Regions from separate parts of the Homo sapiens genome. Here region 2 is linked to region 1. Evidence: promoter capture Hi-C in 16 types of primary human blood cells and fetal thymus (Javierre and others, 2016). All regions are on one chromosome and are shown on one strand. Each heading gives the region's core, a stretch centred on a gene start or on the middle of the fragment in contact. The rest is flanking DNA. Distances are from core to core; before and after follow the strand shown. Region 1 holds the start of PPP4R1 (protein phosphatase 4 regulatory subunit 1). Region 2 has its middle 31 kb from the start of RAB31.

Evidence for each region. The method cuts DNA at HindIII sites, captures the fragments that hold promoters and counts their contacts. A CHiCAGO score of 5 or more calls a contact.
Region 2: a contact is called between a fragment that was not itself captured here and the fragment with the promoter of PPP4R1 in region 1, in 1 of 17 cell types (neutrophils). The highest score is 6.6, in neutrophils.

Annotation. Positions count from the first base shown.
Region 1 is chr18:9,611,707-9,615,808 of GRCh38, forward strand. PPP4R1 (protein phosphatase 4 regulatory subunit 1) reads right to left here and starts at 2,853. Exons shown (of 20, transcript NM_001042388.3): 1 at 2,772-2,853; 2 at 2,520-2,564. The coding sequence starts at 2,778. It overlaps PPP4R1-AS1 (PPP4R1 antisense RNA 1), which reads left to right and starts at 3,101. Exons shown (of 3, transcript NR_110773.1): 1 at 3,101-3,308. RefSeq lists an enhancer at 1,970-2,049 and silencers at 2,320-2,569, 2,670-2,939, 3,040-3,549. The HindIII fragment of the contact is 7,461 bases long and covers 407-4,102 here.
Region 2 is chr18:9,675,512-9,679,613 of GRCh38, forward strand. It overlaps the pseudogene KRT18P8. Among named protein-coding and RNA genes, the nearest start is that of RAB31, 31 kb to the right of the region's middle. The HindIII fragment of the contact is 6,758 bases long and covers 1-4,102 here.

The DNA.
Region 1 (4,102 bases), core at 1,603-4,102:
AGAATCTTTAAAAAGTTAGTTGCAGCCGGGCGCAGTGGCTCACGCCTGTAATCCCAGCACTTTGGGAGGCCAAGGCAGGTGGATCACCTGAGGTCGGGAGTTCGAGACCAGCCTGATCAACATGGAGAAACCCCGTCTCTACTAAAAGTACAAAATTAGCCAGGCGTGGTGGCACACGCCTGTAATCCCAGTTACTTGGGAGGCTGAGGCAGGAGAATCACTTGAACCCGGGAGGCAGAGGTTGCGGTGAGCCGAGATCGCGCCATTTTGCACTCCAGCCTGGGCAACAAGAGTGAAACTCCATCTCAAAAAAAAAAAAAATTTAGTTGCGAGCATTGGCAGCATCTTTAAGTACCTTCATTCTGTAAGGTTCAACATCAGTGTTTCCTTCTCTGCTCTTCTTTTAAGCTTCCCTTGCTCTTTTCTCATAACAGCAAACATAATCATAATCATCGCTGTTTACCAGGAATTGTTCCAAGTGCTTCAGAGGCACTAACTCATGTACAGCCTTGAACAACTCTATGAAGTAGGTAATATTTCTTATGCCTACTTACAAATGACAAAACTGAGGCATAGGGAGGTTAAGTGAGTTGCCCAAGTCTGCCCAAAAAGACACTGCTAAGACAAACAGAGCAGCCTGGCTCCAGTGGTAACTGTAATACTGTACTGTACACCTAGATTCAAAACTGCTTGTAAACCACTAGAGGGCATGGGTTGTGCCCATCTTTCTCAAAGCTCCATCCCCAGTACCTGGCAGAGTGTTGAAACTCATGGTTGAATTTTTCACAGGTATGCCTTCCCCTCTACACTGTGCTTCTTGGGGGCTAAGGAAGAAACTGAGACTGCATTTCATCCTTCAGGAGTGAGAAGTTTTTGCTCCAGTCATAAATACTTGCTGAATAAATGAATCTTCTATTTACGAAGTCGAACATAAATATAAAAAGCCCTCCTCGAGGTAACATAATCAGGGCCATTTCTCCAATCCTAACCTGGCAAGAGATCTGAAATCAACAGATGCCTTAAATAATATCTCAAACTTACTATTAGGCAGATAAGTGGCTTAAGGTAAACATTAAATAAAATGTTAAAGCTGCCCTTCACTACATGAGTACTGCTCCCTTTAAGAGAGCTGTTTTGAGCCACCTCACTAAAAACACAGACTTAGCAAAAGTTTGGATGTGGTTCATTTACTTTAAAGATAAATTACTCGTTTCAGATAATCCATCTAAATAGTAAATCCCCCTTACTTTACTCAAAACAACCAGGAATCTAAAAATTAAGTTTACTCTGAGTAAGGGAACCACATTAGACAATGCTAAGGATTAACTACAGAGTATTTAAAAGAGTAATTTCAAACTGCAGCCATCTCTGAAATTACTTATACAGGTACTAGACAGTCAATCTCAGCATCCGGTAGGCTTTCCACTAAACAGACCACAATCCTACTATGGTTATCATCTCAACTCAGAACAATTTCTTGGTCCCTTATGTATCCCATGATCTTCGCTTATATATTTTGCACACTCTGCATTTTTAAAATGCATCTCAAAACCTATTGATTTTTTGATGGGTCGCTATTTTGGAAGATTAGCAAGAATAGAAACTATTTTAAGTTAACTGCAATTTGTCACTTCTTTCAATACAAACCTGCTTAACTCTTTTGTCTTTTCTATCGTGACCCAAATTATTTTCTGAGGCTTAGAAAAGTACATATAAGACGAAAAATTCCTTTCTAAATATCAATTCCGTCGCCATCAGGAAATGTCAGAAACTTTGTCTTTTTAAAAATAAAAGCGTCAACTCTTTAAAAACTTCAGTACCTCAAAGGAAAGCTGCACTGTTAACACTGAAGGAGGGCTGGGTGATTTCTGAACATCCGCATTAAAGAAATATGCTCTCCAAACCTAGTAATTCCTGCGGAGGCCACACCTTCTAACCTTCTCGTAATCCACTAATCAAATCGGGAGCATCTGAAAACTGCTACCAGCCAAAGTAAAATGACAGGTATGTCATCCTCAAACAATCCAAAACCGGGTCGGGGAGCCCAGACGGCTAGCCGGGGCCCAGGCTGACCCCCGGGCGCTCCTGGAAGAGCGACTCTAAGGAAACACACCTCCCGCGCGAGCCTCTTCCTTCCTAGAGTGACGGGGGAAGGGGACACCAGGGGCAGAAACACACCCAAACCCCACTTCAAATCCTGCCCCACCGCTTCTCCTTCCAAAACAGCCGCGCCACTGCTGAGCCCGCAGGCGATTCGGGGGCGCCGGGAGAAGAGAGCGAAGGGCGGAAAGCGAACTTGGGCGTTACTCCGGGCGTCTCCCTCCCCCAGCGGAACCTGGGCGCGCCGTTTCCTCACGGACGCGAGATTTTCCCCCCCGATCGCCACCCCAGCCCGCCTGGGGCCGCCCTCGCCCACCGTCCCCTCAGCCAGCCAGGGCCCGGCCCAGGCCTCGCCGCCGCCCGCCCTCCCCGGCCGCTCCCCGCGGACTGCCAGGCCACCGCGAGGCCGGGCCACTCACATCCGTCTGCGTCCTCCTGCAGGTCCTCCTGAAGCAGCGAGAGGTCTGCGCCGAGGGGAGAGAAGAAAGGCCCGGTCAGCGCCCCGGGGCCCGGCGCGACGCCCCCCCCCCGCCCGCCTCCCCCCCGCCCCGGGGGCGCCTTCCCGCGCCGGGACCCCACGCCGGCCCCGGCCCGGCAGCCACTCAGGGCTGCGGCGGAGGGCGGGTGGGCTCGAGGAGCCGCCGCCGCCCGGAGAACAGGGGGCCACGTACCCGCCATCTTGTGGTCGCCCCCTCCTCCGCGGCCGCCCGGGGAGCCGGGGCTACATGGAGCGGCGCGAGCCGGGGAGCCGGTGGACGCGCGCGGGAGGGGCGGCGGGGAGGAGGAGGGCCGGGCTGGCGGGGGCGCGCGCGCGGGGCGGGCCGAGGGCCCGGGCCTGCCGCGGGCGGCGCGGCTCCCGGCCGCCCGGGCCCCCGGCCGCGCCCCGCCCCGCCCCGCCTGCCCCTCCGCGCGGCTCCCGGGCGACCGGCGCTCCCGCCTCCCGCCTTTCCCGCTGCTTGCCGGGTCCCGGCCCGGCGACGCGCGCTCACACCCTCCTCCCGAGCCGCCCTCACGCCGAGCGCTGCGGACGGGGGCGCGCAACCTGCCGCCGGCCGGGACCCTGCGGCGAGTGCCGGAACCCGGCCGGGCGGGGCCTCCCGCGGCCCGGCCGCTTTATTGGGTCACCGGCCTCGCCCACCGCCCTGCCAGCCGCAGCCATCTCGGCGGGCGCGCCGCTCGCAGCCAGCGCCCCATCCCCAGGCCTGCACGTACGTCGTCGGCGATCCGGGGCCGGGGGCGGCTCCGAGGTCGTCGGGGCCGGGGTCCCACCTCCTCTTGGAGGAAGCGCCGCCTCCCCACCCGCCCGGGGCCCTCGCCAAGTGGCTGCTAACAAAGCCCAGGGCCCGGCTGCGGGATGGTTGACTGACAAAGTCATGCCTGCCTAGCCAGCTTCCTCGTGCAGCACGGTGAAGGCTGGGGCGCCGGGTTTTTACTCCCACGTCCTGCCAACTCGAGCTGACAAGGCGGGCAATCCACCAGCGGGAGCGTTGGCAGGCCCGGGGTCAGATCCTGATTCAGCCAGTTAATTGGTAGGAGTGGGGCCCATTTGTAGAATGAAGGTGATAACTGCCTCGTGGGGTTATTGGCATTAAATGAAGAATGTAGGGAACCTAGCATGGTTCTTGATGTCTAGGAGGTGCTCGGTGAAGGGTGCCTATGATTCGCTTTGTCTTCTAAATACTTTTGGCAGCACTTGAGGTGTTAAAGTCTGTATCCCAGACTTTATTAGTCTTGTTGTTTTACGTGACTTAAGCGATTAGCTCAAACGCCCAAGTACAAAATGGGGCTAAACCCAGGTTTTCCGACACGATTCTACCTCCATGGCTCTATCTCCAGCTCCACCCAAGGCCTCCAAAATGGTGTTCTCCTAAAGTGACCAACAAAACACCAAGCTGTGTCATGGTGCCACTTTGGCGATGTGGTCTCTTAGGAGAGGGAATTCTAAGTAGTTAATTAGCTTGTTCCTTTCTACGTTGTAGTCTTGACCAAGGACAATGTGTTG
Region 2 (4,102 bases), core at 1,187-3,686, 63 kb after region 1:
CTGCAACCTCCGCCTCCCAGGATCAAGCAATTCTCCTGCTTCAGCCTCCCGAGTAGCCGGGATTACAGGCATGTGCTACCACGCCCAGCTAATTTTGTATTTTTAGTAGAAATGGGGTTTCTCCATGTTGGTCAGGTTGGTCTCGAACTCCCGACCTCAGGTGATCCATCTCAGCCTCCCAAAGTGCTGGGATTACAGGCGTGAGCCACCGTGCCAAGTCAGAATGATCAGTCTTAACTTTAGTCATTCTAATAGGTGGGTAGTGGAACCTTACTGGGGTTTTAATTTGCATTACTTTAATGTGTAGTGATGTTGAATATCTTTTCTATTGAATATTTGTTTGCTATTGATATCTTCTTTAGTGAATCTTTGTTCAGATCTTTTGTCCATTTTTAAATGTTTTTTCCTGAGTTTTGAAGGTTTTTATATATTCTACATACAAGCTATTTGTCAGATATGACTTGCAAATATTTTCTCTGAGTCTGTAGCTTGGCTTTTCATTCACTTAACGCTGTCTTTTGAAGAGCAGAAACTTTAAATGTTAATAAAGTCTAATTTATCAGTTTTTTTTAATAGGTCACGCTTTTGGTGTTATATCTCAAAATCCTTTGATTAACCCAAGATCAGATAGATTTTCTTCTATTGTTTTTCTAGAAGTTTAATACTTTTAGGTTTTGCATTTACATCTGATTCACTTTGAGTAATGTTTTGATTATGGTGTCAGGTATGGAACAAAATTCTTTTTTTTCCATATGGATATCCAGTTGTTTCTTAGGGGGAAAGAATTTAGTCTTTCTATTAAGTATGATGTTAGTTGTCGGTTTTTGAAGATGCCCTTTATCAGGTTGAGGACATTTCCTTCTATTCCTAGTTTGCCAAGAGTTTTTAACAAGAGTGGCCATGATATATTACTACTTGAAAGTGGACTGTGATGGGTTAAATATGTCAAGTTGGTTGATTGTGTTTTTCAAGTCTTCTATACACTTACTTTCTGTTTACTTGTTCTCCCAATTATGGAGAGAGGGTTGTAGAAATCTCTAACTATAATTGTAGATTTGTGAATTTCTCCCTGCAATTTTTAAAATATTTTTTGAGACAGGGTCTCCCTCTGTCGCCCAGACTGCAGTGCAGTAGTGCAATCTTGGCTTACTGCAACCTCCACCTCCCAGGCTCAAGAGATTCTCCTGCCTCAGCCTCCTGAGTAGCTGGGATTACAGGTGCGCACCACTACTGCCTGGCTAATTTTTGTATTTTTAGTAGAGACAGGGTTTCACCATGTTGGCTAGGCTAGTCTTGAACTCCTGACCTCAAGTGATCCACCTGCCTCGGCCTTCCAAAGTGCTGGGATTATAGGCCTGAGCCACTGTGCCCGGCCCTCCCTGCAATTATATCAGTTTTCATTTCATATGTCTTTAAGCTCTGTTACTGTGTGCCTAAACATTTAGCATTATTCTTTTTATGAATTGATGCTTTTATCATTATGAAATGATCTTCTTTTTCCCTGGTAATATTTTATCTGAAATCTGCTTTATCTGGTACTAATATAGCCACTCCATCTTTCTTTTGATTTTCATGGTGTATCTTTCTCCATTATTTTGCTTTTAACTCCTTGTGTTTATATACATAAAGTACTGTCTCTTATAGGCAGCATACAGTTGAATCTTATTGATTTTTTATTTTTTGAGACAGAGTCCTGCTCTGTCCCCCAGGCTGGAGTGCAGTAGCACCATCTTGGCTTACTGCAGCCTCTGCCTCCTGGGTTCAAATGATTCTCCTGCCTCACCCTCCCCAGAAGCTGAAATTATAGGCATGTGCCACCACGCCCAGCTAATTTTTGAATTTTTGGTAGAGATGCGGTTTTGCCATGTTGGCCAGGCTGGTCTTGGACTCCCAACCTCAGGTGATCTGCCCACTTTGGCCTCTCAAAATGCTGGGATTACAGGCGTAAGCCACCATGAAGGGCCTTGAATCTTATTTTTTAATCCAATCTGAAAATCTTTGCCTTTGATTTAGGGTGTTTAGACCATTTACATTTAAAGTAATTGCTGAAATGATTTTATTAATGCTGTCATCTTGCCCTGTTTGGTATTTGACCCATGTTTCTTTATTCCTTTTTTCTTCTCTTCTGTCTTCCTTTGGTTTAGCTGAATACTTTTTATGATTCTGTTTTATCTTCTTTGTTGGCTTATTAGCTATAACTCTTTGTTGTGGTATTTAAGTGATAAACTCTAAATTTTATTTATTTATTTATTTATTTATTGAGACAGGGTCTTACTCTGCCACCCAGGCTGGAGTGCAGTGGTGCTATCTGGGCTCACTGCAACCTCTGTCTCCCACGCTCAAGCTATTCTCATGCCTCAGCCTCTTGAGTAGTTGGGATTACAGGCACCTACCACCATGCCCGGCTAATTTTTGTATTTTTAGTAAACATGAGGTTTCACCTTGTTGGCCAGGCTCAAACTCCTGACCTGAAGTGATCCACCTGCCTTAGCCTCCCAAAGTACTGGAATTACAGGCGTGAGTCACTGTGCCTGGCCAACTCTAAATTTTAGGGTTTATGGTATACATCTTTAACTTATTGCTATCTACCTTTAAGTAATATTATGCTATTCATGTATAGTATTACAATAGTATACTTCCATTTCTTCCTTCTTAGGCTTTTTTTTTTTTTTTTAACTCTGGACTTTTTATTGGCCTCCTGCTCCCCAAAGGGTACCCTGCTGCTGCTGGCTTAATGCCTCAGAACTTTGGTGTCATTGGTCTCAGACACCACTTTGCCATCCACTATCTGGCGGTTGGTGGTCTTTTGGATAGTTTGCATGGAGTTGCTGTTGTCCAGGGCATCACCAAGACTGAAGTCCTTACCATCTTCCAGCAGGCAGCGGTAGGTGGTGATCTCAGCCTCTAGCTTGCCCTTGATGTTCAGCAGGGCCTCTTACTCCTGGGCCTGGCGCTGTCCCTCTGCCCAGGTCTGTGCCAGCTCTGACTCCAGGTGCAGCAAGATCCCGTTGAGCTGTTTCATCTGTAGGGTGTAACGGGCCTCCACCTCCCTCAGGCTGTTCTCCAAGCTGGCCTTCAGATTTCTCATGGAGTCCAGGTCAATCTCCAAGGACTGGACTGTACGTCTCAGCTCCGTGAGTGTCGTGTCGCCTCAAAAGCTCCAACCTTGGCAGACGGCGTTGTGACCACTGTGGTGCTCTTCTCAATCGGCTGAGACCAGTACTTGTCCAGCTCCTTTCGGTTCTTCCGAGCTTGTCATATTGAGCCCAGATGTCTGCCATGATCTTGGCAAAGTCCTGAGATTTGGGGGCATCTACCTCCACGGTCAATCCAGATCTGGCAGTCTGGGCTTGTAGGCCTTTTACTTCCTCTTCATGGTTCTTCTTCATGAAGAGCAGCTCCTCCTTGAGAGCCTCAATCTCTGTCTCCAGCTGCAGCCAAGTGACATTGGTATCATTGATGACCTTGCGGAGCCCATGGATGTCACTCTTCACAGACTGGTGCATGGCCAGTTCTGTCTCATACTTGACTCTAAAGTCATCAACAGCAAGACGGGCATTGTCAATCTGCAGCACGATGCAGGCATTGTCCACGGTATTTGCGAAGATCTGAGCCCTCAGGTCCTCGATAGTCTTGAAGTAACGGCTCCAGTCTCTTGACCTGGGGTCCCTTCTCCAAGTGCTCCCCGATTTTGCTCTCCAGCCTCCGGTTCTTGGTCTCCAGGCTCCTCACTCCATCCAGGTAGGAGGCCAGACAGTCGTTCAGGCTTTGCAAGTTCTCCTTCTCGTTCTGGATGCCTCCCATTCCTGCCAGGCCCCCGGCCATTCCCACAGCCAGGCCCCCGGACCCCATGCCGCCCCAGAAGCTGGAGGAGTGGGACATAGAGATCCGGGAACCAGAGCCCCCGGCACCTGCATAGACGCTGGTCGTGCCTGGACGGAGCCCAGAGACCAGTAGTTGGTGGAGCGAGTGGTGAAGCTCATGCTGTTCCGGGAGGAGGGCGAGAGGACAGGACTCGGGCTTTGCCGAGGACTCCTTCTTAGTTTTAATGCTGCTATTGTCAAACATTTTGTTTTTATGTATGTTATATTTTCTACAATGC